Linked DNA regions of Homo sapiens: all the other regions are linked to region 5. The links are contacts of gene promoters, found by promoter capture Hi-C in blood cells and fetal thymus (Javierre and others, 2016). All regions are on one chromosome and are shown on one strand. Each heading gives the region's core, a stretch centred on a gene start or on the middle of the fragment in contact. The rest is flanking DNA. Distances are from core to core; before and after follow the strand shown. Region 1 overlaps STK33 (serine/threonine kinase 33). Region 2 overlaps STK33 (serine/threonine kinase 33). Region 3 overlaps STK33 (serine/threonine kinase 33). Region 4 overlaps STK33 (serine/threonine kinase 33). Region 5 holds the start of RIC3 (RIC3 acetylcholine receptor chaperone).

Evidence for each region. The method cuts DNA at HindIII sites, captures the fragments that hold promoters and counts their contacts. A CHiCAGO score of 5 or more calls a contact.
Region 1: a fragment that was not itself captured here is called in contact with the fragment with the promoter of RIC3 in region 5 in 4 of 17 cell types (M0 macrophages, M2 macrophages, endothelial precursors and 1 more); the score reaches 6.6 in M0 macrophages.
Region 2: a fragment that was not itself captured here is called in contact with the fragment with the promoter of RIC3 in region 5 in 7 of 17 cell types (monocytes, naive B cells, M2 macrophages and 4 more); the score reaches 9.5 in monocytes.
Region 3: a contact is called between a fragment that was not itself captured here and the fragment with the promoter of RIC3 in region 5, in 1 of 17 cell types (M2 macrophages). The highest score is 5.6, in M2 macrophages.
Region 4: a contact is called between a fragment that was not itself captured here and the fragment with the promoter of RIC3 in region 5, in 6 of 17 cell types (M2 macrophages, M0 macrophages, M1 macrophages and 3 more). The highest score is 10.6, in M2 macrophages.

Annotation. Positions count from the first base shown.
Region 1 is chr11:8,537,047-8,542,615 of GRCh38, forward strand. All of the region lies in intron 1 of STK33 (serine/threonine kinase 33), which reads right to left. Among named protein-coding and RNA genes, the nearest start is that of STK33, 54 kb to the right of the region's middle. The HindIII fragment of the contact is 2,051 bases long and covers 2,801-4,851 here.
Region 2 is chr11:8,573,750-8,578,579 of GRCh38, forward strand. All of the region lies in intron 1 of STK33 (serine/threonine kinase 33), which reads right to left. Among named protein-coding and RNA genes, the nearest start is that of STK33, 18 kb to the right of the region's middle. The HindIII fragment of the contact is 1,831 bases long and covers 2,195-4,025 here.
Region 3 is chr11:8,511,662-8,516,721 of GRCh38, forward strand. All of the region lies in intron 1 of STK33 (serine/threonine kinase 33), which reads right to left. Among named protein-coding and RNA genes, the nearest start is that of STK33, 80 kb to the right of the region's middle. The HindIII fragment of the contact is 3,168 bases long and covers 1,079-4,246 here.
Region 4 is chr11:8,556,070-8,561,281 of GRCh38, forward strand. The region is part of intron 1 of STK33 (serine/threonine kinase 33); the gene reads right to left. Among named protein-coding and RNA genes, the nearest start is that of STK33, 36 kb to the right of the region's middle. The HindIII fragment of the contact is 2,780 bases long and covers 1,701-4,480 here.
Region 5 is chr11:8,164,915-8,170,544 of GRCh38, forward strand. It overlaps RIC3 (RIC3 acetylcholine receptor chaperone), which reads right to left and starts at 4,111. Exons shown (of 6, transcript NM_001206671.4): 1 at 3,952-4,111. The coding sequence starts at 4,075. It overlaps RIC3-DT (RIC3 divergent transcript), which reads left to right and starts at 4,156. Exons shown (of 5, transcript NR_187234.1): 1 at 4,156-4,275; 2 at 4,971-5,074. The HindIII fragment of the contact is 1,725 bases long and covers 2,991-4,715 here.

The DNA of each region.
Region 1 (5,569 bases), core at 2,576-5,075, 370 kb after region 5:
CTCGGGTCACTGCAACCTCTGCCTCCTGGGTTCAAGTGATTCTCCACATCAGCCTCCCGAGTAGCTGGAATTACAGGCACCCGCCACCACACCTGACCAACTTTTGTATTTTTAGTAGAGATGGGGTTTCACCATGTTGGCCAGGCTGGTCTCGAACTCCTGACCTCAGGTGATCCGCCGACCTCAGCCTCCCAAAGTGCTAGGATTACAGGCATGAGCCACCATGCCTGGCAGGGTCTTGCTATGTGGCCTAGGCTGGTCTGAAACCCCTGGCCTCAAGTGATCCTCCCACCTCAGCCTCCCAAAGTACTGGGATTACAGGCGTAAACCACCATGCCTGGCCCCCGCCTTTTTTAAATTTTGTTTCAAGTGTGTTCATAATTACTCACTGAAGCATTTTTTACCATGGCTGCTTTAAAGTTCTTGTCATATAATTCCAACACTTGTGTCATCTCAATATTGGTGTCTGTTACTGACTTTTCTCAATCAAGTTGAGATTTCCCTGGTTTTTGGTATGATAAGTGATTTTCTGTAGTACACATTATTGTTTAGAATAACATGAGATTAAAATGGACATGTGCCAAGCGCTGTGGCTCATGCCTGTAATCCCAGCACTTTGGGAGGCCAAGGCAGGCAGATCAAGACCAGGAGTTCAAGACCAGCCTGGCCAATATGGGAGGCTGAACCAGGGAGGTGGAGGTTGCAGTGGGCCGAGATCATGCCACTGCACTCCAGCCTGGGGAACAGAGCGAGACTCTGTTTCAAAAAAAAAAAAAAATTAAAAAAATAATAAAAAATAAATAAAATGGATAAGTAACTAATGAATCAGAAGTTTTCTTGAGTAAAAAAAAAAAATAGGAGCCAGGATGGTGGCTCATGCCTGTAATCCTAGCACTTTGGGAGGCCGAGGCAGGAGGATTGCTTGAGCCGAGGCATTCAAGGCCAGACTGGGCAACATGGCGAAACCTCGTCTCTACCAAAAATACAAGAAATTAGTTGGGCATGGTGGTGTGCACCTGTAGTCCAAGCTTTCAGGAGGCTGAGCTAGGAGGATGGTTTCAGCCGTGGGAGGCAGAGATTGCAGTGAGCCAAGAATGCGCTGTTGCACTCTAGCCTCAGTGGCAGAGCCAGACAGTATCAAAAAAAAAAAAGAGTAACAATAACAAAAGCTAATACTTAAATAGCATGATGTGTCAGGCACTATAATGAGTATCTTATACATATTAACTCATTTAATACTTACAACAACTCTATGAAGTAGGCACTACAATTATCTGAATTTTACAAATGAGGAAACTGAGGTTAAGTAATTTGCCTGCAGTCACACAACTAGTAAATGGTAAAGCTAGAATATGAATCCAAACCGTCTGCCTCCAAAGTCCATGCTGTTGAAATCAGTATGCCATCATGCCCCCAGTAATGTATTACTGTAGCTTTATTTGTGTAAACATGTCATTGTTTTCCTATACAGGGAAATTTTAGGGTGAATCTTGTCATTTTAGTCATCATCATAGGTATTATAAAAGATTACTTTGTTGCCACTAACTAAAGAAAAAAGCCAGTAGTAGGCATATTTTTAGAAAAACAAAAGGCTCAAGAAGATAGGCAATTTTACGTGAATTTGGCAGAGCGACCTAACCTAACAAGATGTGTTCTTTCCTACATGTGTCTAGTGCTCAACGAATGCTTGTTGAATGAATGAACACACACACATATGCATGTCTCTAAAGAATGAACGATAAACAGGATGTCAGCTACTTTTTTAAAATGTCAAAAAGGGAAAGAATATGGAGCTATGATCTTCTAACAGGAGGACTTCCTAAAAGTCAAGGGTCCGGAACTCGCTTGTCTCAGATGATAATTACAGGCCAATGAACCACTGCTATCTGGCCAATTAACCTTTCTGACAAAAGAAGGATGTCTAAAAATAAGAGAAATGTTTTCAAATATTACTGATAATATAAACTGGGTTTTGTACATTTAAGATTTGTCCAGAATCTCTTTGTCCCTTGATATGTAACCTATCCAAGAAGTATCAGCTCCAGCCAGAAGGATTTTACTATTACACAACCTGTAAAGTTTACAGAAGAGGTATTCTGAAGGAGAAAAAAAAACAATAATGACTTTCTGAAAAAACAAAATTGTAGATAACTTTGTTAAAAAACAAAAATTTAAAACGAAGTAAAAATTAAGATTCTCACCTAGCCCATTATCATAGAGACTTACATTGCTATCAAGCCCGTTTCTCTAGGGGCTTAAAGGCAATCTCTGACACGGTGCTGCATCTCAAAATGTTCCCTCAGTGAGGTGATGAATCTCTCTTGCCCTGGTCTGATGAGGCCATGAGTGATCGTTTAAGAATCAGTGTATCAGTGAACAAGGCAAGGGAGCAAGCCAGCTGGCCAATATGAAGATGAAATACTTGACCTAGCGACACCACCAAAGTCTCAGCAAAAACAGGCTATGTCCTACAAACAGGTAGGAATCTGTTCACTTTTGATCTGAAACAATGGAGCACCCCTAAAATACCAACACCAATAAATAAGAGTAAACAACCCAATAGTTTCGGATTGCAGCAGGATAGCAAAAGATTCGAAGAATCTACCTGAAATTGCTTCTTCATCATAAAGAATGCCCCTTAGCAACTGATGCAATAATTACTTGGCATTAAGATAGACATATGATTTATTTGGCATTTAACTATCATGAATATACATAAAGGAACTCAGTGAGGTTACATTACACCCTTAATAGCTAACTCATAACTGTAGTACGTAAATAGGAGCTAATGTAAATGCTAAGCTTCTATAGATAAATAAATAATATTTGATGTATCACCCTTCAGTGAGCCGCAAACTGAAAGAAAGATTATATGATCAATTTAGGCCTGAAATCCTTAGCGCACTGTTGGTGGGAATATAGACTGGTACAGCCATTATGGAAAACAGTATGGAGGTTCCCGAAAAAATTAAAAATAGAACTATCATACAACCCAGCAATCCCTCTTCTGGGTGTATACCCAAAAGAGAAGACCTTTTGCTCACCTCATAAATATATATGCACTCCCATGTTGATTACCGCATTATTCACAATAGCCAAGATATGAAAAAACCTAAATGTCTGTCAGTGAATGACTGGATAAAGAAACTGTTGGCCAGGTGTGGTAGCTCATGCCTGGAATCTCAGTGGTTTGAGAAGCCAAGGTGGGAGGATCGTTTGAGGCTAGAAGTTTGAGACCAGGCAAACAACATAGTGATAACCCATCTCTACAAAAAAAAAAAAAATGTAATTATCCAGGTATGGCGGGGTGTACTTGTAGTTCTAGTTTCTTGGGAGGCTGAGGTGGGAGGATCCCCTAAGTCCAGGAGTTTGAATGAGCTATGATCATACCACTGCACTCTAGCCTGGGTGACAGAGCAAGACCCAGTCTTTAAAAAAAAGACAAATAAAATTTTAAAAAGAAACAGTGGTGTGTATACACACACGCATATACACACAGGAATATTATTCAACCTTAAAAAGGAAGTAGATCCTGCCATTTGCTACAAAACAAACCTAGCAGATATTATGCTAAGTGAAAAAAGACAGACACAGAAAGAAAAACATCACAGGCTCTCACTTATACATGGAATATTTAAAAAGAAAAGAGTTCAAATACACAGAGCACAAAACAGTAGCTACCATGGATGGGCAGGGGGCGGGAGAGGAAACAAAGAGATGCAGATCAAAGGATACAAAATACCAGATATGTAGGGTGAACAAGTTAGAGATAATACACAACATGAGGACTAAAGTTAATCAAATTGTATTATATTAGACATTTTAGTTAAATAACTAAATTTTGGTTGCTCTTGTCATGAAAAAGTAATTATGTGAGATGAGATATGTGAATCGGCTTCACTATACTACCCATCTTACTATCTCTCTCTCTCTCTCTCTCTCTCTCTCTATATATATATATATATATCTCATAACATTATGCTGTAAACCTCAAATATACATAACACATTTTTTTAAATTTAGGTTTGAAACAACATTTTACAATGGAAAATAGATGAAGCAATTAAGGACCTCTAAAGAATTCAGTTCAGATGTTATGCCTTTAAAATATAAATTGAATTAAATTATATCATTACTTGAGAAATGTGTATATTTCAATGAACATATTATTTAAAAACTGACCTAATTTACTAATAAAAGAACAAGAGGCTTTTCATCTCTCCTTTTCCAAAGAGGTTTTTTAAAAAATAGTTCTCAGTTTCGTGATTCAGTACTATAATACAGTTTTACAGTTTTACATTTCCTGCTTTATCTGTTGAAGCAAGATAACTCAGTAGCTATTGTCCAGGTAGACTTTCATTTCACCCAGACCACGGTTTTATACAAAGTAAATTTTCTAACTTCAGAGAACTTAACAACCACTCCTAATCAGAAACTCTTTAGGCAATGCCAAGAAAAATATCCAATGAAAGAAATTCTGTTTAAGTACAGTATGAACAACTCCTTACTAAATAGCTTTTCCCCCAACTCCAGTGCATAAAGTATGTTCCATACATATCTTTATATCACTATATATTTTGAAATTTAAAACTTTGATATAGTCCTAAATTCGTTGCTATTTTACTTTCCATTTGTTCAAATGTTTCACAACTTCTGTCTGTGGTACTACAAGCCCCTTCAAAAGACTTAAATTGTATTAAAATACTACTTTCAATTTAAAGAGCAAAATATCTGAAAAATTAAGGTCACAGTGTTAGAGAGTCTAATGGAGTATGGATTTCTGCTTGAAGTACTTCAACCAGAAACCTCAGCAATCTTAAATCTGTCTCTCCTGGATATAATAAGTTTTAAAGCTTTGAATGAATTTTCAGACTATGTTTCACATCTCTCATAACTTCAGAAGAAGATGCAGCAGAGAAGCAAAGAGAACAGTCTCTATAATAATGGAATTTTTATGCAGTACCAATAAGCTACAGAGCCTTTAAAACAAAAGATGAATAGGATCATTTTTAAAGGAGGAAAAATAAGCGTTAGAAGGTTTCTTTGTAAGAATTTGCTCATAGGTACAAAGTACTTTTCAAAAGATCAAGAAATAGTAGGTTCTTTGATTCAGGATGTCATAAATGTTACAGAATCACGATTAAATCAACTATTAGTTTTAAAATATAAGGGTTTTATTTCAATATTTCTACGATAAATGTGGCTAGTTCCACATGTCATTACGAAACCTAAGTCAATTTTCAGATAGGGCACTGACCAGGAAATACTGACAGACAAAAATCACATGGAACATGTACAAATCTGAAATAGGGAAACAACACAAAATACATTTCAAAAAAATTGCTTTTAAAATGTTTGTCATCTAAAACAGTGGTTCTCAACGGAAGTGATTTTGCCTCCCGGGGGATGGCTGGCAATGTCTGGGAACATCTTTCGTTGTCACAACTAGGGGAGTGCTACTGGTATCTAGAGGGTAAGAAACCAAGGATGCTGCAAAACATCCAAAATGCATATGGCTGCACCACAAGAAAGAATTACCCACTCCAAAATGTCAATAGGGCCAACGCTG
Region 2 (4,830 bases), core at 1,860-4,359, 410 kb after region 5:
TAAAAAGGAATATGCAACAGACTTTGATGAACCTCAAGGGAATTATGCTGAGTGAAAAAAGCCAATCTCAAAAGGTTACATACTGTATGATTCCATTTATATAACATTCTTGAAATAACAAAATTATAGAAATGAATCTGTTTCCAGGGGTTACAGATAGGAGAGGGGTAGGTATGAGTATAAAGGAAGGAGTAGACAAGGGAGACTCAGGGTGATGATGCAGTTCTGTATCTTGATTACAGTGATGGTTACACAAAGTTCGTGGTTACACAAGACCTGCCTTGAAGTTGCCCATGGACCCCAACACCACATGCTGGAGTGTTGCCAGTCCCTCAGTGGCCCCTCTCCCTCCCTCCCTATCCCCACTCACCCCAGAGGAAGTGGACACTTAGAGATGGAGCTAATATGAGCTTCAGGCATAAAATTGCATACAACTATATACACGCATACACAAATGAGTAAATATACAACTGTAGAGGTCTGAATAAGCTTTGTGGACTGTGTCAACCTTGATTCCTAGTATGATACTATACTACAGTTATGCAAGATATTAATATTGAGGGAGGATGGTTGAAGCGTGCTCAGAGTCTCCCTGTGTATTTATTTGAAACATTTTGTAAATCTGTAATTATTTCAAATTAAAAGTTAAAAGAAAGAAAAAAGATAATCAGAATAGCCATAAATACTTTTTCTTTTTAAAATAACTATAAATAGTAAAGAAATTAAATTCTTAGTTAAAACTTTTCAACCAAGAAAACTCTAGACCCATATAGCCTTGCTAGTGAATTCTATCAAACATTTAAAGAAGAAATAATACCAATTCTATACAAATTCATCCAGAAAATAAAAAAGGAACATTTCCCAATAACATTACCATGTTACCAAAACCAAACAAAGACACTGCAAGTACATATAACTACAGACCAATATCCTTCATGAACCTAGAAGCAAAAATTCTTAAGAAAATGTTAGCAAACTAAATCCTCTAATATATAAAAGGATAATGAGGCTAGGCATGGTGGCTCATGCCTGTAATCCCAACACTTTGGGGTGCCAGGCCAGGAGAATTGCCTGAAGCCAGGAGTTCAAGACCAGCCTGAGCAACATAATGAGGCCCCATCTCTACAAAAAAAGGAAAAAAAAAAAATAGCCAAGTCTGGTGGCATGCACCTGTAGTCCCAGCTACAAAGGAGGCTGAGGCAGGAGGATCACTTGAGCCCAGGAGTTTGAAGCTACACTGAACTATAATTGCGCAACTGCACTCCAGTCTGGCAAGGGAGCAAGACCCTGTCTCAAAAAAAGGGGGAAGGGAAAGGATAATGAAATTGCTTTAATTTTTTGTGAAAATGACAAGTGTTGGTGAGGATGTGGAAAAACTGGAACCCTCATACATTGCTGCTGGGAATTTAAAATGGTGTAGCTGCTGTGAAAAACAGTTTGGTGGCTTCGCAAAGAGCTAAACATAAAATTACCACATGACCAGCAATTCTACTCCTAGGTATACATGCAAAGGAACTGAAAGCAGGGCCTCAAACAGATACCTGTACAGCAACAGTCACTCACTGCAGCATTATTTACAATAGCCAATAGACACAAACAACCCAAGTGTCCATCAACAGATGAACAGATAAACAAACTGTGGTATACGGACACAAGGGACTATTATCCAGCCACAAAAGGGAACAAGCTCTGATACAACATGGATGAACCATGAAAACACTATGCTCAATGAAATAAGTCAGACACAAAATGACAAATATTGTATAATTCTATTTATATGAAATAGCTAAAATAGGCAAATTCGTGGAGACAGACAGTAGATTAGAGGTTATCAGGGGCTGGGGGAAGAGAGAAGAATGGGGTGCTTAATGCTATAGAGTTTCTGTTTGGGGTGTTGAAAATTTTTGGAAGTAGTGGATAACCAGCTAATGCCACTGAATTGTATACTTAAAATGGCTGCAATGGCAAATTTTATTTCATATATATGTATATATCACCACAATAAAAAAGAGGATAACAGATCACGACCAAGTAGGGTTCATCCTAAAAATGTATGGTTGGGTTAACGTTTGAAAATCAATCTAACTTACCATAGTAACAGACTAAAAAAGAAAAACTATATGATCATCTCAATAGATGCAGGCTGAGAAGACTGGGAGAGACTAAATCATGGAGTACCTTACAAGTCTTAACAAGCTTATACTGTATTCTAAAGACTACAGATTCCTCACCAAGGGATATTAAGAGGGAGATATTAAGAAGACTAACTCAATCTAGTTAGCGAATCAACAACCGACATTTGTAAATGGTAGAGAAAATGTTTACAGGATGCTGTGCCAGAGGGCAGCAAACAGAAACTGGGCATCTGAGATGGGGAAAATGAAGAGAGACTTCTAAAAAGAGGACTGAATGGGGAGTTGAAAACAAACAGCAGAACTTTCCTAATCCTCATGACTCTCTCACCACCGCCACTGCACCCATGTCTGGGAAATGCGTTATTAGTGATCATACTTTGCATGGACAAGAAAGAACAGTTCAGGTTCCAAGGTGACCTCCCTCATTCAAAACACGAATTACAACCAACATTCAAGTCAGTGTGTTCTTAGGCCTTTAAGACTTCATTTCCTTTTGGAACTTTCCAAACTATTTGATGTTCATGAAACCATCTAATGTAATAAGAAGAAATAAATAAACCTGAAATCTATTTTCAGATTGTAGATAAAATTTTTATAATGTATTACTATCTATCTGGCTATAAATATATGCCACAAATTTCATCACTTCAAATGCTTAATGTGTGAATATAACAGATATTAACTTTCTCATACTGAATAATAATAGCTAACATTTATTAAATACCTTTTTTGTGCCAGTAACTGGCTTAAGTACTTTGGGAATATTGTCTCACTTAATTCTTGTAACAACTCCATAAGATAAGTTCTACTACTATTCCCACTTTACAGATCATGAAACAAGACACAGAGAGGTTCGGTAATTTGCACAAGGCCACACAGCTAATAAATGACAGAGACAGGCTTCAAAACCAGAAATCTGCTAACATGCCAAACTCCTAACAACAATGCTATAAAATGAAGCAAGTGACAGATGTTCCAGAGTTTCATCAATTCACAAAAGACTACTGGATGACTTTAAAAAACCTTGAATAAGACATGAAAGAATTGCTCTACTTCCCCGGGATTTAATGTTCCATACAATAAATAAATTATATGCTATAAGTGATCCTCCTGTCTTAGCCTCCCAACGTGCTGGGACTACAGGCATGAGTCACCATGTCCTGCCAGGAAGATTCATTTAGAAGAAAATTTGGGAGGATAGGAGCCCTGAAATGTGTCTAGTAAATAGTTAGCAGAGGGTACTATGGTATCTAACATGATACAACTATCAAAATATGGCAGTATCACTCTTTTACATTCAATTATGTCTCAAACACAATACAAATAAGCTAAAAAGCTATATTTCTGGATAAAAGATTTTAAAATCTTCAATAATCATAGTGACTTTAGACTGTACTCCAGAGTTCATTAACTATGGATTCTAAGAAACAAAAAATAGCAGAAGGAAAAATCAAAGATATTTCAAGAATTCATTAATAAATCAGAATATTAGGAGAACAAACAAAACTAAGTCTTAACTCAAATTTCAAAAGCCTAGATGATTTTTCATACACTTTGCTTATTATTTAGTATTTATGCTACATGCTATAAGCAGAATAATCTTAGATATGTTTTTTGATTCTGCCATGTCACCTTCCTTGAGCTTGTTTATCTGGGTATATAAATATATTATTTTTCTTTACTATACATATTCTTTTTAAAAACTCTAGAATCACTCCTGGACATAGTAATTACTTACTCAGTAACAGGAAAAATGCAAAGTACTGTGTAATATTAACATTTATTTTCATATTCACCTTATATTCTACCAATGCAGAAGCTATGAAGGTGTAAGTATACATGCCATTTATACTCTATCCTATCTTACTGCTCTGCAGTTCTTTATACACAAGCTTACTTTGGCTCTCTTCAATTTATACATAAATATTTAAAACCTCCTTTTGCCCATTTTCTGGATATACTCAATGGTAACAGAGCCATTGTAAGCATTTTTATATGGTAACTTTCCTGAGCAAGAATCATACCATAACCCTAATAAAGGTCAAATGCAACAGTGCCTCTCCAGGGAAGTTCTTCCATGCAGCAGTGAGTCATTTTTTCTTTAGGAATGAAAGTTTCACTCTGGTGAGTAAATGTCTGCTCATATGCAGACATCTCTCACTACAAGTCAGTCAACTATGCCATAATCTTCTCTTTTCTCATTTTGAAATCTACCAACCCATACATATATATACGATTACAGTGCCTGATATGGAGCTCTGCTAATAGGAAAGCACTTACTTATTTATGATTTATCACACATTTGTACTGGGAAGAAAAACCTTCTGTATTAGTGAATTTCACCATGCCGACAGTAATCTCCTAGTTTCTTGTTTAACACATACAGTGAATTTACACATGTACAAAATAACATAAATTAAAAGTTACTTTTTACAGCATCACTTGTAATAGCAAAATACTGGAAAACATTCAAATACCCTTCAATAGGGAACTATTTAAGTAAGTTGTGGTACATCCATTCAGTGGAATACTATGCAGCAATTTAAAAAATGAAGAGGGTTTTCTTCAACTGCAACAATATCTAAGATATTTTTAGGCAAAAAATCAAGGTGCAACATAGCAACTACAGTATACTACCACTTGTATAAAATAAGGGTAACATTTTATTTATATATAATATACTATATGTATACCA
Region 3 (5,060 bases), core at 1,413-3,912, 350 kb after region 5:
ATCTTGTTGAGAGTTTTTATCATAAAGAGATGCTGGATTTTATCAAATGCTTTTGCTGTGTCTATTCAAATGACGATATGATTTTTGTTTTTAATTCTGTTTATGTGATATATCACATTTACTGACTTGTATTAAACCATCCCTGCATCCCTAGTATGAAACCCACTTGATCTGATGTATTATCTTTTTGGTATGCTGTTTGATTCCGTTAGCTAGTATTTTGTTGAAGATTTTTGCATCTATCAAAACAGTAATATTTTAAAGTATTGCCCTTAATATGTCATAACTCTAAGATATAAAAATGGAAATTCTACAAAATGATCAAAGAAAGCTACTTATAAAGGATTAAATGTGCAAATGATTCCTTCTGCGCCAACTATTATTACAAATAAAGCTCCAGATCAAAGGGTAGATCTTCTTTAAGTAGATTATGCTCATAGATAAAACAGACTAATGAATTTTACAGTAGTTTTCTGTTGGGTCAATAATCTATAGATTAATTCTCCTTTATTTCTAGTGACTAAGTTTTCCTTGCTACTTATGCTTTTCTCTATAACTGACAAAAATTTACATAATGATATACAATTTCTTTTTTTCATAGTTTGTATTTATTGGGCACCTAATTTATATAAGATCTCGTTCTTGGTCTTGTGGAAATAGAGGGTAGATATACAAAAAAAATATCAACCAGAGTCTCTAAAAAATACAATCTAACATAAAATGTGACACAGATAAACGAAGTATACAAAGTGCTACTGGCTCAAAGAAGGGAGAGATGATCTCCAGCAAGGTAAAAAATGAAGAGTCCATAAAGGGATTTCACTTAAAATTGGCAGAAGCTGGAAGGAAAAGCATTCCTGTAACAGCTATGGTCCTAAGGCAAGAGTGTTTGTGGAGGCAGGAGGTCAAAATGTTCAGAATTTTATTGTAAGCTCATTTCTTATGAGCTTCTTAAGCTTATATTTTTTATTTTTAAGTCTAATACATAAAATACTAAAAGCCTAGTTCTTTCACCTTACTGTACTGTCCTTCTTAGGTTCTCGCCTGTACTGTGCTGACTCAGATTTCTTCTTGCACAAGCTTGTTCCCCATCTCATAGAGTCAGCATGACTTTGCTAGGGAAGTGACAAACTACTTTCACTCTGATCAAATTTTGACCTTGGCCTTCCTCAGGTACACAATTACCTAGTTCCCTGCTCTTCTTTCTTCCTATTGTGCCTTATAACTTCCCATTATATTTAGCATATTTAGCGCCCCTAGGTTTAGCACTGAGTTGCTTTTCACATTAGATTTCTCAAGGACTTACTATTGTAGCCCAAATAGAGAAAAAATTAAACAAATTATGAAATTCCTATTTATATATTCCTTCATTCTACAAATGACAATTGATTCTTTGGTTATAAGCGGCACTCTTATGAATAATGATGCATATAAGTTGCTAATGTATACCATCACTTTTTTGCCACTTAGTCAAAACTATTTACTAAAGCAAGCAAGGAGTCCTGTGCCATCATGGAGAGCGTGTGGAGCTAACCACCCTACAGCTTGCTTCTGCTCATCAAGGAAATCAAGAACCTGCTGGTTTTGTCCCTGCTCACCTAACATCTCACTTCTTTTTCCTCATCACAATACTGCTAATTCCACCTAATAGAATCCCTTATGCTTGTGTGTAGCCCGTTCCTACCACCTTGCTTTCAAATGCTGACCCATACCTCAAGAAGCTCTCCCTCTCTATATGTTTCATTTGCAGTGTAAATAAGGCACTATTCATGAATGCTGGTTTTGTCTATAGTGCTACTGATATTACTGTATCAACCAAAAACAGAACTATAAGTCTGATTGTAAAAATTACAGTCCATATAGAATCATGCTATCCACCTCTACACTGCTCGTAGATCCAAACCATCCCCTCACAATCCTTGCAACTTTTTCATCCCCCTGAAATTGAGGCTGCTTTTTTAAATCAAAAGTACTCAAGACTTTAAAACATTACTTCAATCACGGTAACTTTTTTTTTAATTTTTGGGGGTATATAGTAGGTGTATATATTTATGGGATACATGAGATATTTTGATGCAGGCATGCAATGTGTAATAACCACATCAGGATAAATGGGGTATCCATCACCTCAAACATTTATCCTTTGTGTTATAAACAATTCAATTATACTCTTTTAGTTATTTTTAAATGTACAATTACATGATTATTGACTACTGTCACCCTGCAGTGCTATCAAATACGAGTTCTTATTCATTCTATTTTTTGTACCAATTAACCACCCCCACTTCCCCACCCCACCCCACACCACTACGCTTTCCAGCTCTGGTAACCATCCTTCTACCCTCTATCTCCATGAGTTTACTTGTCTTAGTATTTTAGCTCCCAGAAATAAGTGAGAACATACTAAGTCTGTCTTTCTGTGCCTGGCTTATTTCACTTAACATAATGATTTCAGGTTCTAACTATGTTGTTGCAAATGACAGGATCTCATTCTTCTATATGGCTGAATAGTACTCCATTGTATATATGTGTCACATTTTCTTTATCCATTCATGTGTTGACAGACACTTAGGTTGCTTCCAAATTTATGGTAACTTCTATTTTTTGATAAATGACTATAATTATTATTAACACATTTTCTACAAATTTTCTATTTCATTTTAACACAATAACAGATTAAACCTTTGTGGGTTAGCCTGGAAACTTAGCCATCGTGAATAAAACCACTCTATGGGGGAAAAAAATCTGAGCTGTAAAAAATTAAACTAAAACTAATTTATAGATTCTATTTGGAGATGCTTGCCAATTCCTGAGGAAACAACAGATAGACTGAGTGGGATGTTACTGATAGCCTCCAGGGATCATGCGGATAAGAAATACAGTCTAAAGTCCACCAAGGTTGAGTACCTCAGGAGCCTTATTACATTGAGGTAGAACTCTGAAGGACTTCCAACCTACAGCAATAGGCATCAAATCATCTCATTCTCTAAAATTGAGTTGACGTGATCCTGGACTGGTTATACCCACAGGCGCTAGCAGGAACAAACATAATCCTTCTCTGAATGTTGATGACACCATCCTGGACCTCAGATTATCTCTGCAAACAATGTTTCAAATATAATGTCTGGCAAACAATTTAATTTTTTTAAAACAGCCACATGACTAGACAAGCAAACATGAATAAAACCAGGAATATAAACTCACCAACTGAGGCTCCAAACATTAAAGTTATCAGATAGAGACTCTAACTATCAAAGAAATACAGACAAGAAAATTATAATAAATGAGAAAACACAAAAAATGAACAAAAGGACATTAAAGACCTGAAAAATGCAATTGCAAAAATTAGAAACTCAAAGGATGGTCATAATAGCAGATTAAACTCAGCTGAACTGGAAGAGAAGTCAGAAAAATGAACAATTAAAATGCATCCAGATTAAATCAAGGAGAAAATACAAAATATTGAAAAGAATACAAGAGACATATGGAATAAACAAAATTGACAAACTCTTAGCTATACTAAGAAAAAAAGAGAATACTCAAATAAAATCAGAAATGAAAGAAGAGATATTACAGCTCATGCTACAGAAATAAAAAGAATCATAAGAGACTACTACGAACAATTATACGCCAACAAACTGGATAACCTAGAAGAAACAGAAAAATTCTTAGAAACATAGAACCTACCAAGATAAATTCAAGAAACAGAAAGTCTAAACAGATCTATAACTAGTATGGCAATTGAATCATTAATCAAAAACCTCCCAACAATGAAAAGCCCAGGATTATAGACTTCACTGGTGAATTCCAAATTCATTTTATAAGAGCTGCATTAGCCCGATACCAAAGCCAGATAAAGATACCACGAAAAAGGAAAACTACATGACAATATCTCTGATGAATACAGATGTAAAAATTCTCAACAAAACACTAGCAAACTGAATTCAACAGCACATTAAAAGGATCACAAACCATGACCAAGTAAGACTTATCTCTGAGATGCAAGGATAGTTCAACACATGAAAACCAATCAATGTGATACACCATATTAACAGAATTGAAAATAAAATCACATCTTTGTCTCAATAGATGCAGAGAAGCATTTGGATAAAATTCAACACTTTTTCATGATAAAAAACAAAAAAACTCTCAACAAACCAGGAATAGAAGAAAACAATCCCAACGTAATAAAGACCATATATGAAAAGCCCATAGTTAACATCACACTCAAAGGCGTAAAACTGAAAGCTTTATAAGATCTGGGGCAAGAAAGACATCCTATGTTCATGGATTGGAATAATTAATATTGTCAAAATGCCCACACTGCCCAAAGCAATCTACAGATTAAACGCAATCCTTACCAATATCCCAACAGCATTTTTTACAAAAAGAAAGCAATCCTAAAATTCACATGCAACCACAAAAGACCACAAATTGCTAAAGCAATCTTAAGAAAGAACAAAGCCAGAAGCATCACACTTCCTGATTTGGAAATATATTACAAAGCTACAGTAATCAAGAATATAATACTGCCATAAAGATAAACATATTGACTAATGGAACAGAATAGAGATCCCAGAAATAAACCCATGCATATATAGTCAACTGACCTTCAACAAAGATGCTAAGAATACACAATGGAGAAAGAACAGTCTCTTCAACAAATGGCACTGGGAAAACTGGATATCCACATATAAAAGAATGAAACTGGGGGCAGATTCCTAGATGGCCGAATAGGCACAGCTCCAGTCTGCAGCTCCCAGCGTGAGCGACAAAGAAGATGGGTGATTTCTGCATTTCCAACTGAGGTACTGGGTTCATCTCACTGGGGCTTGTCAGACAGAGGGTGCAGCCCACGGAGCAGGATGGGGCATCACCTCACCCGGGAAGTGCAAGGGGCGGGGGAATTCCCTTTCCTGGCAAAGGGAAGCCGTGATAGATGGTACCTGGAAAATCGGGGCACTCCCACCCTAATAGTGCACTTTTCCAAATGACCTTAGCAAATGGCATACCAGGAGATTATATCCCGTGCCTGGCTTGGCGGGTCTCACACCCACGAA
Region 4 (5,212 bases), core at 1,841-4,340, 390 kb after region 5:
TAAGAAAGCACCCACGATCATCCAGAAGTTCTGTTGGCCAAGAGAGTACCTCAGAAATAGGAGTAAAGTTGAAGTAGAATATTGAGACTAGGGCCAGTTGGGGAGGGCCTGACCATAAGGCTAAGAAGTCTGGATTTTATCGGGTAATTGGGGAGCTGGTAAAGATTTCTGAGCAGAAAAAAGCGTCATCAAAGTTGTGCTTTAGAAAGATCAATCTAGCAGTAATTGAAGTAACTGAACATCAATCAAATGCAGATGATATAGCACAGTGAGTATAATGTAAGCCTGCAGGAATTCAGGAATTCATTTATAAAAATGTAATTTATATGCATCTTTTCAGTAACACAGCTCTATAAACTGTCTTGCTCATAGACTAGTACCTAATTATATAAGCATCTAAAAAGGTCATAAGTACTATAAAATGATATCACAAAACCTCTTGCCTCTGCCTGGAAATCCTTCCACCCCCTTTCCCTTCCAGTAAACTCCTTATCCTGTAGACTTCAGTTTAAATGTCACTTCTTCAGAAAGGCTTTTTTTAAATCACTTATCCAAATTGGGTCCCCTTGTTTTTCTCTTTCAAAGGAACTTGTACACTTTCTTCATAGCACTTATCACAGTTTATAAGTATATATTTTGGTCACTAATTAATTAAAGTCTATTTCCCCCACTAGACTGTGAGGGGAAAGACTGTATTTTTGCTCATCATTATATTCTCCAGAGCCTAAAATGATGTAACACATATTAGGCACCTAACAAATATTTGTTCTATGAAGAATGAATGAATGAAGAAGAGAAGAACAGATTTTAGGGTCACCATAGTAATGCCCCTCTTTGCTAGATGCACTTGCTATTGACTAAGATACTTTCTTTCAAAGAGAAAATTAAAAGAAACCTTAAACCAGGCATGGTGTCTCATGCCTGTAATCCCAACACTTTGGGAGGCCAAAGCAGGAGGATCACTTGAGCCCAGGGGTTCAAGACCAGCCTGGGCAACATAGTGAGACCTCATCTCTATAAAAAATAAACAAATTAGCTGGCCATCATGGTGCATGCCTGTGGTCCCAGCTACTTGGGAGGCTGAGGTAGGAGGATCACTGGAGCCTGGGAGGTCAAGGCGGCAGTGAGCCTTGATTGTGCCACTGCACTCCACCGTAGGCAACAGAGGGGGACCTTGTGGGGAAGGGAAGGGGAGGGGAGGGGAGGGGAGGGGAGGGGAGGAGAGAAGAGGAGAGGGAGGAGGAGGAGAAAAGAAAGAGGGAGGCAAGGAGGGAGGGAGGAAAGAAGGATGGAAGGAAGGAAGGAAGGAAGGAAAAAAGGAGGGGAAAAAGGAAGTCAGGAAGTCTTAAATTTCAACTTAAAGCTGAATTCTTACGTGCCAAAATCAGAATAAAAACCTGTACTTACACAAGGAAAACCTTAAAGCAAATACTCAAGTCAAAATATACATTCCTATCTCTCATATTTTTACAGAAATAATTCCTAGTGCAACTACTAAGTGAACTAGAATAAGGAACGGAACCTGGACACAAGAAAGCATTATAAGTCAGATGTAAAGAAGGCAATTATAGACTTGTAACTCCTTTATTCATGTATATCATGTTAGAACCTCAAAAAGGAACTTCAGCATTCAATGAAAGATTTTTACTTCAACCTATATCATCACTGGAGTAGAAAAAAACCCTCAAAAAAGATAACTAAGCTTTGAAAAAAAAAAAGTAATTCACTTCCAAATAATAAATACTTGGTTTTCAATCACATGCTGTTTATACCTATGTACTTACTTCATGCCACAAACTTGGTGCAAGGCTTTCTTCATATAATAATAAACATGGACGATTAGCAATGTAATGAACCTTAAGTCACAGAAGTCTAGAGAAGTCCAAAGGAGTTCAACATGAGGCATTTGGGACCTTATCTCAAGATGCAGCCCTTCACAAAAATTTAACTTAGAAAAATCACTCAATTCACTAGGACACATGAAGCCCTAACCAACTGCCAACAAGGAACTAGAGAAGTTGGTTTAAAATCAGAAATGTTGAGCTAACTTGGTACAATGGATTACCTGCAAAAAAAGGAAAAATAAGATTTCCATCATTCATTTGTTTGCAGGGAGCTGTTTAACTATTGCAAATCAGATGCACTACATAAACTTAAAATGAAAAGGAAAAAAGACCAGCATAAATTTGTTCAAAGAGATATAGTCAGTTTCACTATAAGGAAATACCTACATTCCTAAAAATCACTACACTATGCAAAAATGGCACAAACAAGGACTTACGGGGGAAATGTAGCTAGGGACACAAAACTCCAAATCTTTGTCAGTGATACACACACACACACACACACACACACACGAAACCTAATAAAAAATCATAGCATTTTTGTATATGTTAAATGGTTAGGAAACATAAATATATGGCACCTTACCTTGAAAAAAACCTGAAGTTTACTTATAGATATAGGCATTTGAAAGACTGTAGTTTTTGAATTAATCAAGGGTGCCAGAAAGAAGGTTATCTGAAATCAGAAGGAAAGGTGTGACACCAGATGCGGGTGGGTGTGGCTCATAACTTGTGGTGAACTGAGGTAGCTGGTAGATATTCCAGGTATGTACATGTGTCCGTTTTGTGTGTTCCTGCTGGGCTCGGTTCAACTATGTGCTGTATTCTGTGTTCACCTGGTGTTTCTTGCTGACAAAAATCATGGATAACACAAACATGAAATTCACTTATGCTCAAATCGCTTCCTAATATATCAATGGCATTGCAGCAAATTCACGTTTTCAAAACAAGTGTTAATATAGCACAACTGGCTGTGCGGGTATTCAAATTCAAAAAGCTAATGCCAACTGGATACTGCACTCATTTCCCATTCCTCAAAATGTCTTGAGCCCAATGAAATCACAAGATTTTGAAGAATCACAGACTCTCTAATAGAAAACAGCCACAATTTCTAAATAGATTGGTATAATTCACATGGCCAAACCCTAGAAAATGTAGAGGTCCACTTGCCTCCATGAAACTACAACCTCCTTCATAAAATTGCTGCCTCTAAAGCAACAAAACATAAATAGCACTGGTAAATACAGCATTTGATCAAATCTAGTTTTTGCTCAGGAATACAGGATCTTCTCCTGTCATCATGAGCATTATCACTAATATACCTTCTCACATATCCCCAACACCTTCAGCAGCCATATTATGACAACCAAAGCACAAAGCCAACAAAATGGCATAGCCAAGTTCACAAACCTTAGCATTTTTTCCTGCCCCTCATGCTAGTTTCTAGGTTGGTGGCATGACAATCATGTAATAAAAACAGTGTTCACTAACAGACTTCATTTCATCTGGTTTTAATTAAGAAAATATAACCTCTAGGAGAAATGTCTGAACCGCTATTTTTAGCATTTATCAAGTATTATCTGTTCCACAAGCTAAGCTCAGTTTAGTACGTCATGCAAAGTAGGAGCTTCCTAAATCTTTGTTGAACAAACATTAGTTGAACCTACTTGATTTGTTTTACTATTCTACCCCATAATTTTATTCCCAGAATATTAAATTCTATTTTCAAAAGCAACATAGTCACTACCGGTTAAAATATTTTTGTTTGCTTTTAATTACTATAAAATCAGAAAATAATTGCTGTAATAAAAACTGAAAGAGTCCAGAGGGTATAAAATGAAAATAAGAGTCCAGAGCATCTCCATTCTCCATCTCACAGATAATCATTTCCAATGGTTCTGTGTAACATTCTAGAAATTTTCTTTGCATATACACAGCCTAAGTATAAATCACATATGGTTGTAAATAAGCTCATACTATACCTATTCTCAGTAACTTACCCTTTTTCTAAATATTATAGCCTAACCATTTTTTCATTATCCATATATATATTTACACCTCTTTTGTTTTAATGGCTATATAATATTCCAATATATATAAGCATTCTAAATTATTTAACAAGTCCATATCAATAGTCAAGTAAATTGCTTCCAAATGGTTTCTATTACAAATGATGCTATATGCAATAACCTTTTACATATATCTTTGTATACTAAGATGAATATATTTGTAGAATACACTCTTAGCAGTAGCACTGCAGAGATAAATGTGTGAGCATTTATTATTTTGATAAATGTCAGACTGCCCTCAAGAAAGGATATGAGAGTGCATTTTACCACATTCTGTCATTAGATATTTTTGAACTTTTTCATCTTTCTCAATTTGATAAATGAAAAATAGCATCTTATTTTAATTTCTACCTCCTTAATTATAAATGAGGCTAAGTATTTTTTCAAATTTTTTTTCTGTAAAATATCTGTTCATACTGATTTTTTCTCATCTTTTTCTTGTTGACTTATCAGTGATCCCTAAATATTAATGATATCAATCCTCCTTCTGTCAAACATATTGCAATTATTCTCCCCCACTTGGGTATTTGTTCATTGATTCTTATCATGGTGATTTTGTCATGTAAAAGCTTTTAGTTTTTATGAAATCAAATAATTAATCTTTTCTTTTGTGGTCACTAGGTTGAGAGTTATGCTTAGAAAGGCCTTCTCTGCCCCAAGATTATAAAATTATCTGCCCATGTTTTTGCCTTAAAATAATAATAAACAATTGGTAATTTTTACTGAATGCTTACTTCAGGCCAGGCACTGTTCTAAGTACCTGACACACATTATTGTATTTAATCTTCACAACAACCCTAGTAGGTTAGTAGTATCATTACCTCCAAGACACAGATGAAGATTCTACAGCTACTTATGAGAATTAAACTCATCTGAGAATGCATAGCTGCTATGTGGCAGTGCCTAGATTTCAACTGAGACTAGCAGATTCATCAACTACAGGCTGTTATCTACTGACTCTCTCTCCACGAAGATAAATGGGAGTTCAAACTCTTTTACAAACCTCTACCTATTCTCCCTTCCCCTCTTTATATCTGTTACATAAATCCTTTATTCAACATTAATTTTAGAGCCTTTACATTTTCTTCTGTTTTCATACAACGCAGTTATTCAGACTTTACTTGGTCTATTTTTAAATAGATTCCATATGCCCTATCAACCCCTTCCTATCTCTGCTTCTTCATTCCCAAGTTCTTTTTATTTATCACTTAGATGATTAATTTTACTCATGAGGCATTTCTTCAGGGACTAGGTCCTTGAATGTTTGAGAATATTGGTTGTTATCTTTATGCATAAATA
Region 5 (5,630 bases), core at 2,861-5,360:
AATGTCATTAGTCATCAGGGAAATGCAAATAAAATCACAATGAGATACCATTTCATTCCTACTAGGATGGCTATCATCAAGAAGACAGATAACAAACAAGTATTGACAAGAAACCAGAAGCCCTCTTACACTGCTGGTGGTCATGTAAAATGGTACAGCTGCTTTGGAAAATGGTCTGGCAGTTCCTCAAAAGGTTAAACATGTAATAACCATACAACCTAGAAATTCCACGCTTAGTTCCAGCCACACTGGAATGCTCACATTTTCCAAATGTATACACTCAAGAGAAATGAAAACATTAAGTCTACACAAAAATTTGTACACAGATATCAGTAGCAACATTATTCATAATAGCTAAAAGGCAAAAATTCAATGTCCATCAATTGATTAATGAATAAATGAAATGTGGTATATCCACACAATGAAATATTATTCAGCCATAAAAAAAGTACTGCTACATGCTACAACATGGATGAACCTTGAAAACATTATGCTAGTTAAAAGACGTCAGTCACAAAAGATCAGATATTATATGATTTCATTTATACCAAATGTCCAGAACAGGCAAATCTATAGAGACATAAAGTAGATGAGTGGTTGCCTAGGGCTGGAGGTGGGCTGGGGGATTTGTGGAGTAATAGCTAAAAAGTACAGGGTTTCTTTGGGGGCTGAAGAAATATTCTAAAATTGGTTGTAGTGATGGTTGTACAACTCTGAATATGCTGAAACCCAATAAATTGTACACTTTAAGTGGGTGAATTGTATGATATATAAATTAGATCTCAAGAAAGCTGTTATCAAAAAAAAAAAAGACTTCCCTCCTCTATGTTCTATGAAACCTGTTTTTTGGGGTTTTTTTTTTGTTTTGTTTTGTTTTTTTTTTTGGCAGAGTCTCACTGTGTTGCCCAGGCTGCAGTGCAGTTACACAATCACACCTCACTGTAGCCTTGACCTCCAAACTTCAAACGATCCTCCCACCTCAGCCTACAGAGTAGCTGGGGCTACAGGTGCACACCACCATGCCCAGCTAATTGAAAAAAAACAAACTTATTTTGTAGAGATGGGGGTCTTGTTATGTGGCCCAAGCTGGTCTCGAACTCCCAGGCTCAAGCAATCCTTCCACCACAGCCTTTCAAAATGCTGGGATTACAGGCATGAGCTGTCACACCTGGTTTATGAAACCCTTCTTAAGTCCCAATAACACTGACCATTGCATACATGTCTCCATTGTTCCCTGCGCAGACTTGAGTAACTGTGACTGACACTCTTGCATTTATCTGCTAACATGTCTGTTTTGCATTTATCTGTTGACATGTCTACTTTCCTTTACTAAACTGTGGCCGCCTCAAAGCATGGAGTTCGCTCATTTTTTCTTGGAATACATAGTGTCTATACACTATGTGCACAGTATGTGATATGGTACATCATAAATATTTGTTAAAAGACTATCTTAAAGGCTTTCATGTGGAAAGGGAACTGTGCTTGTTTCATGCACATCAATGGGCAAAAATGGAAGACATAACAACATGTATTTTTAAGAATTTTCAAATACTCAGGGTTATTCCTTTCTTCAAAGCAGGGATTTCTGGGTTCTGAGAATTCTCTGAATTGATACTGAAATTCTGAGTACAATAAGAGTATGTACCTTTTTCTAGAGAGAACATACAGTTTTAGGCTGAGTGCAGTTGCTCAAGCCTGTAATCCCAGCACTTTGGAAGGCTGAGGCAGAAGGATCACTTGAACCCACGAGTTCGACACCAGCCTGGACAATACAATGAGACCCCCATCTCAACCAAAAACAAAAAAAATTTTTTTTAATTAGCCAGGCATGGTGGCATGTGCCTGTAGTCCCAGTTACTTGGGAGGCTGAGGTGGGAGGATCAGTTGAGCCCTAGAAGTAGAGGCTGCAGTGAGCTGTGATCATGACTCTGCACTCCAGCCTGGGTGACAGAGTGAGACCCAGGGAAAGGGAAAGAGAAAGGGAAAGGGGGCCAGGAAGAGAGGAAAGGAGGGAGGGAGGGACAGAGGGAGGAAGGAGAGAGAAAGAAAGAAAATACATAGCTTTTATAAGATTCTCAATGGTGTATGTAACCCCAAAATGGTTAAGATTTTTTGCTGCAAGTTTCAGTTACTGGAATGTACCATTCAAGGTAAGTTTTTTCCTAGGTTATACTACTTCAGTAGCTTCTCCTTGTCAAAAACAGAATTTACAGTATTGGTAGCTTAATAATCTTAAAGTATTTATTGACTGCCCATTATATGCCAGGTACTGAAGAAACAGTGGTAAACAAGACAAAGTCCCTACCCTTGCAAACTTACATTCTAGAAGGTGAAGACAAAAAAACAAACAAGTAAACACTTAAGAATATTCCATATCATATAGTGATGCCTATCATGAAGAATATAAAACATGATAAAATAGAGAATGATGGGAGAAAAGAGTTATTTTAGTTAGTGTCATCAGGGGAAGTCTCTCTGAGGAGGTTTCATTTGAGCAGAAATTTGAATGATGAGAAGGGCACTGAGGGAAAAGCACAGCACTTCAGGAATAAAGAGAACTGAAGGTACAAAGATCCTAACATGAGAACACTGAATACCAACACTTGAGTTCTCAAGGGAACAACCCATGTCTAATCTCCACTCTACATTTTCTACAACGTTCAGAAGAGTGTCTCCCACTCACAGTCAATAGTACTTGTTCAAGATAATTCACCATAATGGAAAGTAAAAAAAAAAAAAAAAAAGTTTTCGAAGAATCTTCACTGTTCAGGATCATCATGAATTGACTCTTCTTCAAAGTAGACAATATCATTAGACAAAGCAGGTAAAAATCTTTGGGATTATTGCAATAAGACAGAAAGGAAAAAAAAAGAACAAATACGCAAAGATGTTTTAGAAGTCCGTCCCAAGTGGATAGTCTTACAAGCATAAAGATTATCAGGCAAATTCTGTAAACAGAATTATGTGTTCAACCTGCCCTCCACCCCTAAAGCTTGGTGCTTTGCATTTATAGTGTGTATGATGCTCAAGAGAATGGAACTACAGTCAATGTGCATAAAGCAGACGGAAGTGGATTACAGTTCAAAAGGAGCTGTCCAGCAATCAACAGTTTAAACATTACTGGAAGTGTTCAGACACCGTAAAATCATGTCTCAAAGATATTACAAGGATAATTTACAGGAGAAAGTTACCAGTAGAACTTCATGACCTATAGAAAACTGTTCTGGTTCCTTCTCCCAGCCTTCAGCACCGTGCCTTTACACTCATTCTGTAAAAGGCCCCAGTGCAGCTAAGAGGATGAATTTTTAAACACCACATACATCATGCCAACAACGAAGAATTAACAGATAAATACTGTTTCAATAAGGGGAACGTAATAATTTGTTCATAACCACCTCAGTAACTGAAACTGGGGTTATTAAAATCTTCAAGATATATTTTTAAAGGCACAAGAAGAGCCTGAAGCAGTGAGCGCCCAGCACCAAGTTGAAAAAACATAACGACTTAAGGTTTGCTGTACCAATTCCATTTGCCTTGATTTCGTACCAAGCGGCGCGTCAGAAAGTACACGGAAAACCTAAAGAGGGAAACCCAACTGGGAACCCTTGACTCAAAGCACGTGAACAAATGGTGACGAGATGAGTTAAGCCAGCGGGGTAAGAGAGAAGGGACTGCGCCTAAACGGGAGTACGCAAGGCCACCTAGAGGATGCACAGACCTGCATGCATACGTTCCTGACCCTTCCAGCAGCAGAACCATCTGGGCCGCCACCCGCTGATAACAACGGAACCGTGGGCATTGGCCCTTCAACGCCGTCTCGCCCGCCCTCTCCAGTCAGTTTGGTGGATATTTCGGTGAAGGCTGCAGACTCTCAGAGTCACCCCTCCCTCAAGCAGCGTTCTCCGTACTCTTCGGCGCCGGGAAGCTCAGAGGGAGCTGGCCTGCTCTTACCTTCAGGTGTCGGCGGCGGCTCCTGCCGCTTCCCGCGGGACAGGAAGGCCTTGGGCAGCAGCAGCGACAGAGCCAGGACAAGCCCAGAAGCCAGAGCGACTCTCTGCACTGTGGAGTACGCCATGACTGCTCACGGTGGTCGCAGGTGCAGACGCCAGCCGGAACCGGAACCGGAACCGGAGCACGGGCTGCCGCTCCCGACCGAACCGCGGGCGGCGCGGACGGCGTCGCGCGAGGGACAAGGTGCGCGAGGCGCACGCATCTTCACCTCCACTGTCGGGAGTTGACCTGCTCCTCCCGCGTGGTTACCCGTCGCTGTAAATGGTACCCTCGCCTTCCCGTTCATACTAACTAAAAACTCCTCCCTCACTCCCCATGTTCATCTTTTACTGAGTCCTGTGCATTCTACCGCCTACACATCCGGCGGTCGTGCCCGGATCTCTATCCCCACTTACCACCACTGCCCCCCACCCACCCGTAGATCACAACATCCAGTTTCTCCTCATCTCCATGATCTCGCTGTCTTCCAGCTTCCACTCATGCCCCTCGCATTCATTATCCGTCTGCAGCCACAGGTGATAATGCTAAAACACAAGACTAATTCTCTTTCTCTCCAGCTTAAACCTTTTAACTCTCCATTATCTTCAGAACAATAGTTAAACTCCTTTCTATAACCTCAACGCCCTGCATGATCTGGTCTTACCAATGCTCCTTCCAAACTGGATGATTTGCTATTTCTTTAGCATATTGCTTGTCTTCAGGGAAGCTTTGCTTGTCCTGTTCCCACTGCCTGGAAAATTCCTGACACCATCTCCAGTTGTCAAAAACTTCTCTGAAGAACAGCTTAAAAACACTGCTCTCTCGAAACGTTTTCAGTCAGCCTCTCCTTTCTCTACAATCCCACCGTTCTTTGTTACTCTCTTCATTCGTTCATTTAACATTATTTTAGTTTTTACTATGTATTAGACCCTCAACTTGGCACTACAGGGTCTGATGAATAAAATGGATTCCCTTTGTAGGACAGATAATTATCCAAACAAAAAAAATGCAGGAAATATTCTGGATCCCCGAGCAGTCTTCTCAACTGGTACGAGGAAAAGTCAAGAAAAGCCCCTTTGAGAAGGTGAAATTGAGTTAGCTGTTGAAAAATGAGTAACTTATAGGCAGACAGGTGGGAGGGGTTAGAAAGGTATTCCGGAAAAAGGAGGCCAAAAAAATAAAGGCAAATCTGGAAGCTTCCTGGTGTGTTCAGAAAGCTATTGGTAATTCATTTTGGCAGGGCCATAGAGTAGTGACAGGACACGAAGTGCACAAATATAAGCAGGAGCTACATTGTGAAAAGCTTAGGTAGAACTTCCAGTTAAACATGACAGATGTAACATATGCATTTATCTTTGCTTTCCTGGGACAGTGCCCAAAAAGGAAAATAAAGAAATAAAGTATATAAACTACAAGACTAAATGCAATGATAGAAAACATGACAGCAGATGAGAAATGTCAATTTTGTAAGACGCACACAACACTGTCCAATAGACACATAATACCAGCCACATATGTAATTTAAATTTTTCCAGTAGCCACATTTAAAAAGTAAAAATAAGTAAAATTTATTTTAATAATATTTTAAACCAAGATAGCAAAAATATTTCAAATTTTATCAGCACGATAGTGTGGCTCGT